2 separate regions of the Homo sapiens genome follow, and region 1 is linked to region 2. The links are contacts of gene promoters, found by promoter capture Hi-C in human tissues and cell types (Jung and others, 2019). All regions are on one chromosome and are shown on one strand. Each heading gives the region's core, a stretch centred on a gene start or on the middle of the fragment in contact. The rest is flanking DNA. Distances are from core to core; before and after follow the strand shown. Region 1 overlaps LINC00477 (long intergenic non-protein coding RNA 477). Region 2 holds the start of SOX5 (SRY-box transcription factor 5).

Evidence for each region. Contacts are between HindIII fragments. The study calls those that stand out against the background at their distance.
Region 1: a fragment that was not itself captured here is called in contact with the fragment with the promoter of SOX5 in region 2 in 2 of the 25 tissues and cell types used here (dorsolateral prefrontal cortex and hippocampus).

The regions. Positions count from the first base shown.
Region 1 is chr12:24,571,155-24,578,872 of GRCh38, reverse strand. It overlaps LINC00477 (long intergenic non-protein coding RNA 477), which reads left to right. Exons shown (of 4, transcript NR_029451.2): 2 at 7,216-7,339. Among named protein-coding and RNA genes, the nearest start is that of LINC00477, 9.2 kb to the left of the region's middle. The HindIII fragment of the contact is 5,695 bases long and covers 3,467-7,718 here.
Region 2 is chr12:23,945,548-23,952,754 of GRCh38, reverse strand. It overlaps SOX5 (SRY-box transcription factor 5), which reads left to right and starts at 3,085. Exons shown (of 15, transcript NM_006940.6): 1 at 3,085-3,191. The coding sequence starts at 3,154. The HindIII fragment of the contact is 5,378 bases long and covers 270-5,647 here.

The sequences.
Region 1 (7,718 bases), core at 5,065-7,564, 620 kb before region 2:
GAGGGGAGAACATTCTATAATCTGATGAAATCTCAGTTTTTTAGTGGGCCTGTGTCTTGGGGCTGAGACCTTCACGAGCATTTCTCCTGTGGCATAGTTTCCCTCTCTCGTCCCCTGTCCCCTAGCTCCCTACTCCTTTTCCTGGCTGCAGGACTCCCCATCTGTTTCCTTGAAGCCCTACTATGTTTTCTCCCTCTTAGGTGATATAGGTGAGACCACAAGGCTAGAGGGGACTGGAGTGGGAGAAATGTCCTTCTCCCAACAGGAATAAGGCTCTGGTAGAATAGACTTTTGTTATGGAAAAGGCTCTGAGTGTGCTATTTCACAGTGATTACCTATCTACTACCTTGCCAGAGCTAGGAGAATATGGATCTTCATCAGTGAGAACCTGGTGGGGTTCCTGGTCCACCAAAGTTGGGTGGGTGCTGTTTAAGATAGAACATTTCTAACTCTCATACTAGTCCAAAGTTGGGCGGGTGCTGTTTAAGATAGAACATTTCTAACTCTCAAACTAATTCACACACAGCCTCCAGCAGGTCATCAAAATTACCATTTAAATGTTTCTGCAAATGTTTGGCTTACCTTAATCTTCTGATTCAGGTAAGCAGATCTTGACTGTGTTTCTCTGGATGTGCCTGTCTCTCCAGATTTTAGAGTAATGGTTTGCCCTGAGACCTGTTTTCTGATGGGTCCCAGAAAAGTCACTGAATTTTGGAATGATGACTTCTAAGCTTTATATGTTAGAGCTGAAACCAGAAACCTATCTTGAGTTATTTTTAATAATTTATTCATAATCTAATTTTCTGCTTATTTATAATAACAAATGTAAAAATCCTTTAAAATGTACAATAATCATTTAAATTTTCTTCACGTATCTGGTCCCATTTTCTTGAATATCAATGTATACCACTGAGATTTGTTGTTTTATCTTTCCTGGCGTTTCTGTGAGGCAGATATGAGCTGTGTGACCTTGGGAAAGTTACTTATCCTCTTCGTGCCCCAGTTTCCTCATTGGTAATATACAGTATTAATAGTACTTGTCTTTTAGGATTATAATGGAGATTAAATGAGATAATGTATATAAAAGCTTAGCACCATAAATACCTGGCACAAAAAAAATGTTCTCAATACATGTTAATTTCTTATTAACACTTTTATTGTCAATCTCACTCTCCAAATAGAAAAAATAAACTTAAAAATTCTTTTAAAAAATTCACTTCTTACTTCTGGATTGTTTGTTTTAGAATTTTCTTCACTTTGACCTGCAGCTGGAGGCTGAGCTGTGGGAGCTGTGGACTTGACCACATTGAAACTTGGTCAGACAAAGTGCCATCATCCTAATTGTGTGCCAGGGCCACAGTTCACTGAATTAGTTCCTCTGAAGTTTCCTTTCTCCTCCTACATGCCAGCGCATAATACAGCATAGACAATTGCTTCAGATCAATTCAACATGAAAGTGGCCCCTGGAGAAAGGCACTAAATATTCTAGTTTGCTAGTCTTTTGCAAAATTTTGAAATTTACAAAAAGAAGCTTTTTAGTCTTCAATTATGATAGAAATGTCGTATTTTAAGATTTCAACTGGTGTATTTTAATTTTATTTTCTTAAGAAGTAACCCTCTCATTCTCAATTTTGCTAGTATTGTATTATATTGGGGTATTGGTGGTAGAAGGAAGATGGGGTGAGCAGCTTCAAAAAAGATTTTGCATGATTCAAAACTATATAACCATAAGCTCATTTCTAAAACTCCATTTACAGCAGGGGCCAAGGCTGGAAGTTCTGACAGTGGCCTTAGGGGAGCATTCTCTCCTGAAAACTGTGGAGTTGAATGATGATGAACACCAGTGCAAACCGGGCACATTTAAAGAAATTCAACTTTAAAGGATGACTGAATCTTAAAAAGTCTTTACATGAACTTCCAATAGGCAGGTTTTTTGCATTTACATGTAGAAGACAGAAGAGATCCAGTTTCTGTGTCATAATTTCTTTCATTTTTTTATTACATTCAATTCCATGAGTCTATTTTACTTTTTATAATATCATTTCCTTTCTCTTGAAATTATGGTAAATTTTCATAAACATGTAAATGTTTTGTTGTTCAATGCTTTTATGCTGTTAGTGGGACAGCAAAGGTTTGTCTACCTAGTATATTCCAATCTAATAGTCTATCCAAGAATGATGGTTTTCTAGGCTTTTATTTAATACATCCAACAATGGAATTCTATAACCTCTTGGTTATTTCTATGAGTGTATAGCATCTTTAATTTGGACCAATTGTTTTTATAATCCAATAGCACTTGATGTAATTACCTTTTAAGGTTATGAAGTACTTTTGTAGCCATCACCTCATTTGATCTTTATAACAATGAGTGAGCAGGGAAGGGCAAGCAGCTGTTGCTAGATCCTGAATAGCCAAATGCACATGCTCTTCTAGAACTGTGGGTATCAAAGCAGTCTTCTAGGAATGGTTTTTACATAAGGGTCTGATGTCTCCTGGTGAGATGTACAGAAGATTTTGCATTCCGTGTTTCTAGGATTGTCATTCCAAAGAAGACATCAAGTTTGCTCCTAATTTTTGGTACTAGGGGTGCAAAGAAATTGCTAAATGTAGGGTACTCCAGAAGGCATAGAACTGATTCTGAAGTAGGACAGAAAAATGACATTAGTCACCATTAAGGAAGGTCTTTTCTAAATAAAATTAATTCCTGGTTCAAAGTAATTCCCCCACCTCCCTAGTTAGTTGATCATGATCATTGTAGTTTCTTTTATTTTCTTTATAGCACTTACCACTCTCTGATCTTATTTATTTTTTTTTTGACAGAGTCTCGCTCTGTTGCCCAGGCTGGAGTGCAGTGGCGTGATCATAGCTCACTGCAGCCTTAATCTCCTGGGCTCAAGTGATCTTCTTGCCCCAGCTTCCCAAGTAACTTGGGAGTAGCCACCACATCTGGCTACCTTTTTATAATTTTTTTTTTTCCAGAGATGAGATCTTGCTGTGTTGCCCAGGCTGGTCTGATCTTTCTGGATGTTATTACTGACTTCCTTTGCATCTGTCTTTCTCCTCTAGAATTCCTGATTTCTTGGAGCATGTACTTGATCTCTTTTTTTTTTCTTTTTTTGTATCACTGAATCCGTAGCCCCTAGAATGATAACCAGCAAACAGTAGGTGCTCCAAAATTTTTCTCCTTGCAACATCAGTTCCAGATATGGGTATGAATAAACTTAAGGGTAGTGTCTATTAAATGATCTTTATGCTGATCTTCAGGGAGCTTGCTGTAATTACTTAGCCAAGAGGACTATAAAACTCTTGCTCAAAAATCTTTATGAATAATTTCAGTTGTTCATATAAAAACCTCTTGTTCATTCAACCAAGTTCTGATCACTGAATGGCTAAATTTCTCTTAATTTGGTCTGTTTTTCTCACCTTCTGTGTCCTCAAGTGTGGCAGTTATGGGAGAACCTGCTTTAAAGAGTATAGTTGGCTGATCACCTCCAGCAGTAGAAACTGCTGATCTACCATGCATTCCTGCCGAGACTCTGGTCTCTCTGGATTGCTTTCAAACAATAACTGAGCATGGTGGGGCTACTAGAGCTAGCCCTTCTACTCCCAACACAGAACTTTTCTATGAACAATCTTTATTCAGGATACTCGAATCCCAACTGATATGTTTGGCTCTGTGTCCCCACCCAAATCTCATGTTGAATTGTAATTCCTAATATTGGGGGAGGGACCTGGTGAGAGGTGATTGGATCATGGGGACGGATTTCCCCTTTGCTGTTCTCGTGATAGTGAGAGAGTTCTCACGAGATCTGATGGTTTAAAAGTGTGTAGCACTTCTTCCTTCGCCCTCTCTTTCTCCTGCTCTGCTATAGTAAAATGTACTTGCTTCCCTTTTTCCTTCTGCCATGATTATAAGTTTCCTGAGGCCTCCCAGCCATGCTTTTTGTACAGCCTGCAGAACTGTGAGTCAATTAAACCTCTTCCCATTGTAAATTATCCAGTCTCAGTTAGTTCCTCGTAGCAGTGTGAGAACAGATAATATGCTGACCAAGCCAGACAAGACTTTCTCAGAGCCACAGTGCCATCTAAAGCCCTTCCCATCCAATCCTGCTTCCTTCCCTCTCTCCTTTCCTAGGTATCACATTGCATCACAGCCTGCCTAGACCTGTTCTCACATCCCTCGCAGGCATTTCTCCCAACAAATCTCTTGCATATCTAATTCCATCTTAGCATCTGCTTCTTGGAGGACCGAGACTGCCATAGCACCATATTCCAGGCCATCTGCGTTTCTCTGTGTGTCACTGCAGCAGCCTTTTTACAGTCCCACACCTTCAATTTTTCTCTCTACCAATTCTCCACATTGCAGCCAGAATGATCCTCAGAAATTACAAATCTCATCCCTTCCTTCCCTGCTTACACTTGCAGGGTAAAGAAACTTCTTTAAAGATGTCTATAGGACTTATCTTCTAGTCTTACTCTCCTGCCTGTCCCTTTGCCACTCCTCATGCCTCCGTAATCTAAATCAACCTGTTTTCAGTTCCACCAATGAGCAGACGATGTTCACATCTGGTACTTGGGTCCATGGTTTCGGAGTTGTGCTCCTTCCTTTCACCTTTTCTCTGCTTCCTTTGGCTCACACCTGTTCATCCTTCATCTCACAGCATGGATGGAATTTCTTCCAGAAAACTTCCTTGCTCTCACCAAGTCTGAGTTAGGTACTCTCTCTATGTGTTCTTATATCATTTTTCATTTCCCCTTTATATCAGTTACTATTCTTTAGCATATGGCAAAAACTGAACTTAAGCTAACTGGAGTCAAATAAAATTCATGAAATCTATTGGAAAGATACTAGAGTGGATCAAAATTAAGGGAAGAACCAAAAAAGGAACAATAGAAAGGCAGCTCAGATGACCTCTTGAGCTGGAATAATGGGCTCAAATGCCCTCAGAACTTTTCTCCCTCTCTTTCTGTGTGTTTGACTCATTCTTTTAGGTTGGTTGCCTCCATAAACTTGGATTCATGGCTGACAGCAGCTCCTGGGCTTACATCCTCACAGCTTGGGGCCTGAGGGAAGAAAAAGCTATTTCTCCTAGCTACAGATAAAAGCAAACAAACAAAAACCAGTAAAGACTCTGATTGGCCAGTTTGTTTTGTGAGTCCACTTCTTTCCCAGTCACTTGCCCTGGGGGGTGAGCAACTATACTATTGAACCATACTATTGAAGAGACAAGTTTAGATCTTATATTCAGTCCTCAACCAATCACTATCTTCAAGGAAGAACATGAAAGAAAAGGACCATACAACTAAAGCAGTGGGAAAACCCACTCCCCTAAAAAATAGAGATTTTCAGAAGATGAGGAAGATGCTATATTGAAAGAAAAATATGTATCTATCTATAAAGCTTAATAACTGCATTCAGTTACAGGTAACAGAAAACAGCAAAATATTGGCCCAAAAATAAGGGTTTTATTTGCCTCCCAAAATGAGAAGTCCAGAGGTAGGCAGTCAATGGGTCTTGGGAAACTTTCTAATCACTTCTAGAATCCAGGTCACTTCCTTATTCCTTCTGAGCCATCCTTAGCGTGCACTTGTCACTCCTAGCCGTGAAATTGCTACTCTAACTTCTAACATTATGCCCATGTTTCAGGCAAGAAGAAGGGGAAGGGCAAAAGCATGTGCTAAGTCTGCTTGCCTTTTGAAGAGCTTTAATAGAAGCCCAACTTAGAGACTTTTTCATTGGCAAGAATTGTGACCCTTGGCCACCTCCAGCTGTGGGAGAGACCTGGAAGCATAGGATGTTAGCTGGACACACTATTGACCCAAACAAAATCATGACTCTCTTAATGAAAAGAGGAAAATAGATATTAGGTAGGCAATTAGTAGTACCTCTCTTGTAAGCCAGACAATCCAGCTGAAAGGGTAAAAAAAAAAAAATTACTTCCAGGACTCCTTAAAAATATCATTCACAGATGGCTTTTGTATAAGATGACAACAACAGCAAAAAATAACTACAACTTCTGGGGCTTACAAAGTACCTGGGACCAACACAAAGGAAGTACTTGGGGTGGAGGGTGGGAACCCTAGTAATTGATGATGCAGGACTGTGTTCTGGCATGACATTTCTTAAGGGACTGGGACTTGATCTTACCCTCCTGTTACAAGCTGATATGTCTGCCTACCATGGTTTCATGGATGTTGCCACAGAACATATGAGATTCCTGAGTCAGACAAAGGACTATCGCCCATGGCAGAGCAAGCAGCATGAGCATCATTATGCTTGCATTGGTTCCTCAGGGGAGACATTGAGCTTGGAGAATCCACCATTTGAATGGAAAGCAGTAAGCAAGTCTGCTTTTTGCCTGGGAGGGAGACATTACTTACCCTCTAGGTTGCTGCCTGCAAACAATCTGAGTAATGGTCTGGGTAAAGAGCAATTGGGGCATTGCATTTTTGGCAGGCCCAACAAGGTGAGCAGGGATGCAAAAGCCTATAGGAGGACTATTTCTTAAAACAATTCATCCCTCAATCCTGTGCAGGATTAGCTTCCAGTGAATTTTTATGAGTATACCACTTTGTTGGTCACTCTGATGAACTTGACCTACAGAGGTTGGGAACAAATCTGTTCAATTTGTTTTGTATAGCACTTATTAAAGGGTTCTATTAACCAAACTTTAAGCAGTAGTATGAGGCCAACCAGAAGTCTCTATAGACCTCATCCAAGCCTCAGAGGGTCCCAGTTTCAACCATCTCTGAGTAAATCTTAGGGGGACCAGTATGTCTTATGTTAGACAGCCAGGATGTAGTATAAATTCAGTCAATTATCCATTACTACTCACAGAAGTTTAAATGATCTTTGGTATTGTTGTCCATAACTACAGGGAATTACCAATAAAACAATCCTCATTTGTAATGGAGAGACATTCATGGCTCACTTTCCCTTGCATAAAAACACAGGTCACAGCAGTCAGGGATGTGTTGTGAAATTTGATTTGGATCACCAATACCTTGTTTCATTTAAGCCACCTGAGTAGTGTTACCAACTAGTTGCAGCCTTGATGTTACACATGGCATAACCTAAGGATGCTAGGGCACCAGGAGAAGCAGATGAGTTTTTATCAGCCAGAATGAAACAAGGTTGTGTCAATCTGTGTGTTTGTACATATTCAAGAGGAGTCTATGTTTGAAGCTTCTCTCTTTCTTTTCTTTTGTTTTTAGAGGCAGTGTCTCACTCTGTTGTCCAGGCTGGAGTGCAGCGATATGGTCATAGCTCACTGCAGCCTCGAACTCCTGGGCTCAAGGGATCCTGCCACCTCAGCTAAGGCCTGCAGTAGCTAAGACTGTAAGCATGTGACTCTACATCCTCCTAATTAAAACTTTTTTTGTTGTTGTTTTGTAGAGACAGGGTCTCCCTATATTGCCCAGGCTGGTGTTGATCTCTTGGGCTCAAGCAATTCTCCCACCTTGTCTTCCCAAGCCACTGGGATTACAGGTATGAGCCATTACACCCGGCCTGAAGCTTGTCTTGATGGCAGAATGAACAGTTTGGGGCCAGCCAGGTCCTCATGAGCTTCTCTGATTTTATAGCATAGAGATGGGGATGATGAACCAGCAGCGTGTCATATTGCCGGCTTTAGCTTTTTGCCTCAAGCAGACCATGTGATTACTTGCAAGGCTGTGGTACTGGGACAAAGAGAGCATTAATTGTTCCTACCTCACAC
Region 2 (7,207 bases), core at 1,836-4,335:
CAAAATTCCTTATGATCTTAGAGTTCCATTAGTTCAAATTATCATTATTAGGATGATCATTATTTGGCAAATTTTCTGTCTAGTTCCTCGTCTATTTCAACTCCTTCAGCATAGATGATTGTGCAAGAAATAATTTGTCTTTTGAATGGCTACAGTAATGTTTGCAGAATATATTGAAGTCAAAAAACTAACTTTCAAACCATTTAACATTCTCTTCTATATTCTTTGTGTTTATTTGGCATATGTACAGATGTATACATATATTAAGTGCCAATAAAATCAAAATCAAATATAAGGAAGATTCTAATATGAGTATCTTTTCTTTATACTATAGTTGGCCTCAAACACTCATACTCTTTCTTACCTGCTCTGGTGACCTTCTAGATTAGAGTTTCAAAGAAACAACCAGAGGTAGTAGCTGTAGCAAGACAGCAGCTGGGACCATACGGATCTCAGCATCCTGCCTTATGGCCATTATCTTTGTTTCTATCTTTATGCTGCCACTATGTCTCCTTGTGCTCTCTCTGCGTCCTCTCCTCCCGCCTCCTCCTCTTCCTGACTCCACTCCCATGGCTCCCTGTAACTCACCCATCCTCCTTCTTCACTTTTTTTCTCTATTGATATAAGATAAGCAAGATTTTTCCTAGTTAGGAAAAAAATTTTAAATATTTTTAAAAGTGTATATAGCTATGCAGCTACTATACCCTAATTCTCATAACAACCATTAACAAATGAAGAAAAATATAATTTTTGTATACATTATCCATTAGAGTATATTAGATTGTAGGTCCCTTAAGGGCTGAAAAAATAGAGATTTAAAATAAATGCAACAATTTTTTCATTTTTCTGTGTGGGAGTAGGTTGTTGCTGTAACAAAAAATAATTTGAGACTAACAACAAGAAAGAATAGTGAGTAATATTCTTCCCCCCTTCCCCAACTGCTGAAAGTGAAAATCATGTCAGCATCAAGTCATTTTTGCCACATCCCTTGTTAACAGCTTTTTCAGGGTGGGTCATAGTTCTATGTTTTGTTAGTGTCTTAACTCCATAGTGACATGCTTAAATCTTATTCCACATTGATTTTGTAGTGTGTGTGTGTGTATATATATATTTTTAGAACATCTCCTGATGATAGAATTAAATATTAAGTTATTATCAACTTGTCTAAAAATTTATAAGCTTTGAATGAAAAATAAATTTACTAATATAAGTTCATAATTGATTTTTTTCTCTTTGGAATATGTGTATGATGTATCACTGTGAATGTCTAAAAAAGTAAACTTACTGTTTGCCTGTCTCCAGAAAAAAAAGTGGGACCTAATCAAACTGCCGTGGGGTCAACCCTTGTGGTTTTAAAGGCCCTTAATGTTGTCCAGCTGCAAAATAAAAGGAATTGGGAGGGGAAGTTGGAAGGAGTGGAGGGGGTTGGGGGGGAGGAATGTGTGGAAAAGAACAGGGAGTCTGGCTTTTATTTTTTTTTTAAGTGAGTTCAGTGCCAGCCTGGACATTGGCTGTACAGACTATTGAGCCATTGTCTGCTCCATTTCCAGAATAGCCCCCAGTTAATCACTTCGGCTTTGAAGGGAATTTCCTCGTGGAATTCTCCACAGAAAATCTAATCAACTGACCTGCCCTCTCAACAATGGAAGGCTTTTTTTTCCTCTCTTTCCCTTATTGGGGCGGGCTCTGTAATGTAGCCTTTTGTGCAGAATGAACCCTCCCAGTAGGAGTGGAGAGCGTGCGTGAGTGAGTGTGTGTGTGTGTGTGTGTGTGTGTGCATGCGTGTGTGAAGAATGCACACTATCTCCTGTTGGTAAGTGTGTGCTTACTCCCTGACCAGATGCTGCGGTGCACGGGGCAGCCACCATCTCTGCATGCATGTCTGTGTAAGTGTCTCTCTCTCTGTGTGTATGTGCCTCTGTCATTTCGTGTCAAAGGTACATTACCTGATTACCTTTCTCGGCTGCCAGATTTTTATCTAGATAATTGGAACTGCTATGGAGGCTGTGCCTTGCCAGCCAGCTTAGAATCTGTAAAGCCATAGTTTGTCCACCTTGTTATCTGTGGCTGCCTGGGCAGAGGAAATTAAAGAGATCCACAGCCAGGGGGGCGCTTCCTACTCCTGACCTCCCCAGCGATCCCAAACAGGACAGTTTGTTAGTACCGTCTTTTTGTTTTTATGTTTTGATTTCGTTTTGGGTTTTTGTTCGCTCGTGTATGTTATTTTGGCATGTGGATACCTATTCCCCTCCACATCGCACATCGTGTTTTATGGAGTTTAGAGCTGAGGAAACTTTGGTCGGGTTGCCAGGACGTTCGCACCACTTTGCGGAAAGCACGAGCTAACAGTGAGACCGACAGAGTGAGTGACAAGTTGTTTACAGGTTTCCTTGAAGGGGCCTCTGCTATATTTCAATCTGTCAAAGTTGCTTTTCTTCCCTCAGAACAATGCCTGATTGTTGTGTGTGTGTGAGTGTGTGTGTGTGTGTGTGCGTGTATTTCCGTGTGTGAACGGAGAGAGCCTAGAAAAGGGTGAGAAGGAATAACAATTCTTTGTGTAAAAATGCTATTACTAACATTAAATTTTTTGCTTAATTAGTTAATAAATGCAGTTTAATCGAGCTTCTGTTATTATATAGACTAGGTTTTTAATCAGCAGCAAATACGTTTTACAAAATCATACTGTTCTGCGTGTGTATGTGTGTGTGTGAGTTTTATGATTTAGAAGACAGAGTATGGGAGACGTGTTAAATGAGTTGACTTCTCACATTCAGTGATGTCTAGAAGAGAGAATTAAAAGGAAAGGACAGGCACCCTGAGGTTGTCTAGAGCCTTGCAGCCGGAGCGTGTGGCTCCGCGGAGGGGGGAGCAGCCAGACTCCGCTGCTGGAAGTGCACTACCCCTTTAAGAGACTGGTCAAGGAGTCCTAGGAGAGAGAGGAGGGGAAGGAGGGGGGGAGAAAGAGAGAGAGAGAGAGAGAGAGAGAGACAGAGAGAGAGAGGGAGAGAGAGAGAGAGAGAGAGGGAGGGAGGGAGGGGGGGAAGAGACAGAGAGAAAATCAATTGGTTTAGAAGGTTTGGACTCACTTGACAGGTTCAGTTGGAGACGATCATAGGTGGCTGCTGTGACAAAGGGAAATTGTGCTTTTCCAGCATGCTTACTGACCCTGATTTACCTCAGGAGTTTGAAAGGTGAGTACAGTTTTTTCCCCCTAATATATTGAAGTACAACTCTCCCATTTTACAGTAGTCTCTGAATCATTGGAAGATGCTCCCCCAAAACGTGTTTGTTAGAGAAGCCTTTAGCTAGGGCTTCTGCAATCTTGTTAGCTGATTTTTTGTTGTGATTGCCCGGACCAAACTGAACTGATTTGCAAAGTCTCCGAGATTTCTGCTAATGTTTTTAGGTTGCGTCCTATAACAGCAAATTAAATGAACCTTAAGCATCTCTCTCTCTCTCCCCAACTCGCTGCTTCTGTCTTTCTCATTCACTCTCTTACTTTCTTCCTTCATTGATTGTTTTCTCCCCACCTTTTAAAAACGCTTTTGTGCAGAATGTTACCATTTTCAGCATCTCTGTCTCATGTAATTTCTAGGGTGACAGAAGGTTTTAGTGGTGCTTTAAACGGAGGCTATAAGTTCCTATTTGATCCTTCCGTAAAACTTTGGAAGCTGCTCAGTAAAGCACATGACCTTTTGTTGATATAAGAGAGCGTTTTTTCCCCCCAAAGAAAATTTAACATCATCGCTATATTAGATTACTCCCTAAGTGTCAAAAATAGGGGCGAAAAGGGGATAAATGGAGCTGTTCCCTTTCTAAGTTTTAGTGGCCACTTTTTGTGTTAGCTGTCTTGACTGAATTTTAATTTACTGTATTTTCCCCTTTTGCTATGATGGGAATAGTGTATTTGTAATTAAGTTGTTCCTATTTAGAGAAATATCTGCAGCATCCTTTTATTTGATGTTGTTGCAAGTAAAGCAGGGCTTTGAAAGAATTTTAGCCCTCTTAATGTTCCTATAAGTACACATTGCAATTTTTAAATTTGAGTTCTTATCCCAGCATAAGTTCATTTTTTTGAACTATAAATAGAATTTTGTTTGCCATTAAAAAGAATTCAAACTTTGTATTCTGTATGGTGAATTAAAAAAAAAAAAGCTAAAAAAAGCCAGGATGCATGATACCCAGGCTTTTTTTCATTTTCATGAAAGCTACCTTCTGTATAAACATTTGTTGTATCTGACTATGCAATGCAAGCTAGGTGCTAGACCAGCTGGTTAAAAATATGCTAAGTCAAGCTGTTCATCGCTCAAACGACTGAATTTGATATGAAAAGACGAAAAAAGAAAGGACAAAGATTAAAACATTCTAGAAGTGAAGCAATGGAAGAGAAAAAGAGTATTGAGGATAAAGTAACGCTTGAATGTGGTCACATATTAGAAAAGCCAGTATCAAATCAGGGAAGAAAGTAAAATAGCCAACACATATACTTCGGTGCTGTCATCTTTCTTTGATTTCTTCTGTGTTTTTTTTTTTAATAATTAAATTGCATCTTTACTAGATAATTCCAGCGAATGTTTGAGCTTTCTTAACAGTTTTGAATTAAAATTTTCACTTCTATATATTAACTCTTTAATTAGTGAGCTTTTATTTGCAAATATAGCCTTATATCATAGGTAGATGTTGAAGTTATTCATAGTGGAACATACTGTACATTACCTAATGTAGCGATTTGCTAATTTAACACAGTTAAGTTTTCTAGAATGCACAGAGTAGCACTTAAATGATAATATTCTTTAATTCTAATTATACTTTTTGCAAATACAACTCTGAGGCTGATTTGTAAGCCTGTTAACAGATTGTACTTATAAAAAGGTAGTTACATATTAACAGGCTGTAGCCTATTTCTCTATATAGGCAAGCTTCCTGCTGTGAACTTTATTTGTATTTTTTTTTCAATTATCTCTTTTTAAACTAAACTTTTCCCTTTCCTATTCTGATGCTCAAATCTGTTAACATCTTTTTTCCTCCTGGTGGGAATTTCATTTTTTTTTTTCACCCAGAGGCATGCTTTTCTAACTAGCTAATTAAATAAGCAAGTGATAATCAATAGGGTTGTTAGTATGACTATCATATTTAGAAATATTAGTAGCTAAAATAATTCTGAAAAATGTCACACAATATAACGTTCCTTAATAATTTCCCCTGTGGTTGTAATTGGTAATACATACAAAGATCTCAGCAAATCATTACTATTTGTTTACATTGAATTTGTACGGGTGAGTGTCTCTATAGGCACCCATGCATGATACAGTGTATCATGTAGACACAATATTGAATATTTATATTCTTCAAAGGAGGTATTTATGATGTAACTAAACTATCACATATAATTAGATTTTTTGCCTTTTCAACTATTTGCAACTTTCATTGAATAAATAGGTCATTTCTATTGACTGTTAATTTTTATTCTATTGGGTCACTTGCTATAGATGAATTTCCCACTTAAACTTAGAAATCTAAAAGAAGACTTCTAAATTTCTTTGTGAAATAGAGAACTTTGATCTAGAGGACATAATAAATTGCTTAGGGTTCATGTACTGTAAAAGTTTTATGTGATCATTTTTACTAATTTCATTGGTAGAGTCTTGTCCATCTTTTATTCTTCCCAGCCTGTAGACTATTTGAACTTTAAGGAATATTCAGAACTTAAATATCAGGATCAAAATTTGGATTTAGATTTGTATATGTCTATATTATCATCCCTAGAAATGAACATGGTCAGTACTCTCAGACTAATAAGCAGTTGTTAAATAGTTAAGAAGTAGTAACAATTTCATTGTCTGTTAAAAATATGCAGGAGGTAGTGCAAATAGAACAGTGATTCTAAAAGGTAAAGAACTTGAAATATTTTTATTTTCAAGCATTCTTGTGATAAACTGATTATGATTACTGAAAAACACAACTCCAAGGTGGGAAGCAAATGGGTGTATATATTCTAAAAAATTATTTGTAAGGAAAGTCTTCTACATTTTACCGTTTAAAGGAAACATAGCTGGCAACATGGTCTAAATGTGAGTAATAGCATCATTAGAATGAACGCCCGAAGTCTCCCCACATTTTTAAAAGAAGTCAATAAATTTATATATTTAACTGAAAGTAGATAATGAAAAATTGTGACTTAAGGTTTTCCTTTGAGAATGTCACCTACTTTTTGATATTTCAAGGATGAAAAGAAAATATTTGCCTTAAATGTCAATATTAGTTTGTTCATGATAAGTAAAAATGTCCATTTTTGATAGTTTCTCAATATTCTATTTCTTTCCTTTTAATTTTATCTGTCCTCTTTGGTTGTAACATAATAGTTTTGTGTCTAAGCTTCCCGTTACAGTTTCTAATTGCTTTATGTTAGAAACTTAAATAGCAAGTGTAAGACGATTGCTTAAGAAGACAGTTCTGATAATGTCTAGAAAGGAGAAAAAAAGTTGGGATTGAAAGTAGTGGGATTATGCAAATTAGGTTGTTAGTATCACCTATTTGATTGCTTCTCCCAAATTGGTGCAGACAACAGACAGCAGATTTTCTACATGTTGAAAGGAACACTACAATAGTAAAACCTTCTGCAATAAAAATTAACTTATTTACTTCACATTTCCATCAAATTTATTTCTGGTCATGCTGACTAAATAATTTTTTTCTTATTAGGACACTTTTCAGTGTTTTTCTGAAGAAAGAAATATATATCAGGTGCTGTTACAAACTAATTCGTAAAATTCCCATGAAAAGCTACTGCTAGACATTTGCAGAAAACTACTCTCTGACATTAGTGGTATTTTAGTTACCTAAAGTTTGACCATAGTCATGAAATATTTATGACACAGATATATTTTGCTTAATTAAAAACCTTAACAACAACAACAAAAAAATCCGTTGTGCTCATGAGTGATAAGTACATTCAGGTTAGCAGGCACACTCTAGGTGTGAATCACAGAAAAGTTATCTGTTCACATTCTGTCACCTAATGGCAACTGTAAACCTGTAAGTTTGATTTTACGTTTTCAGGATGTTCTCATAGGCTTTGATAATTTTATTTATATTTTATTTACTACTACATTGTAGAGGAGACAATGTCTACAACTGAATATAGATTTTAATTACCGTGTCAATAATTTGCAAGCTAACTGAGCTAAGACATTGGTTTGGAATGCAG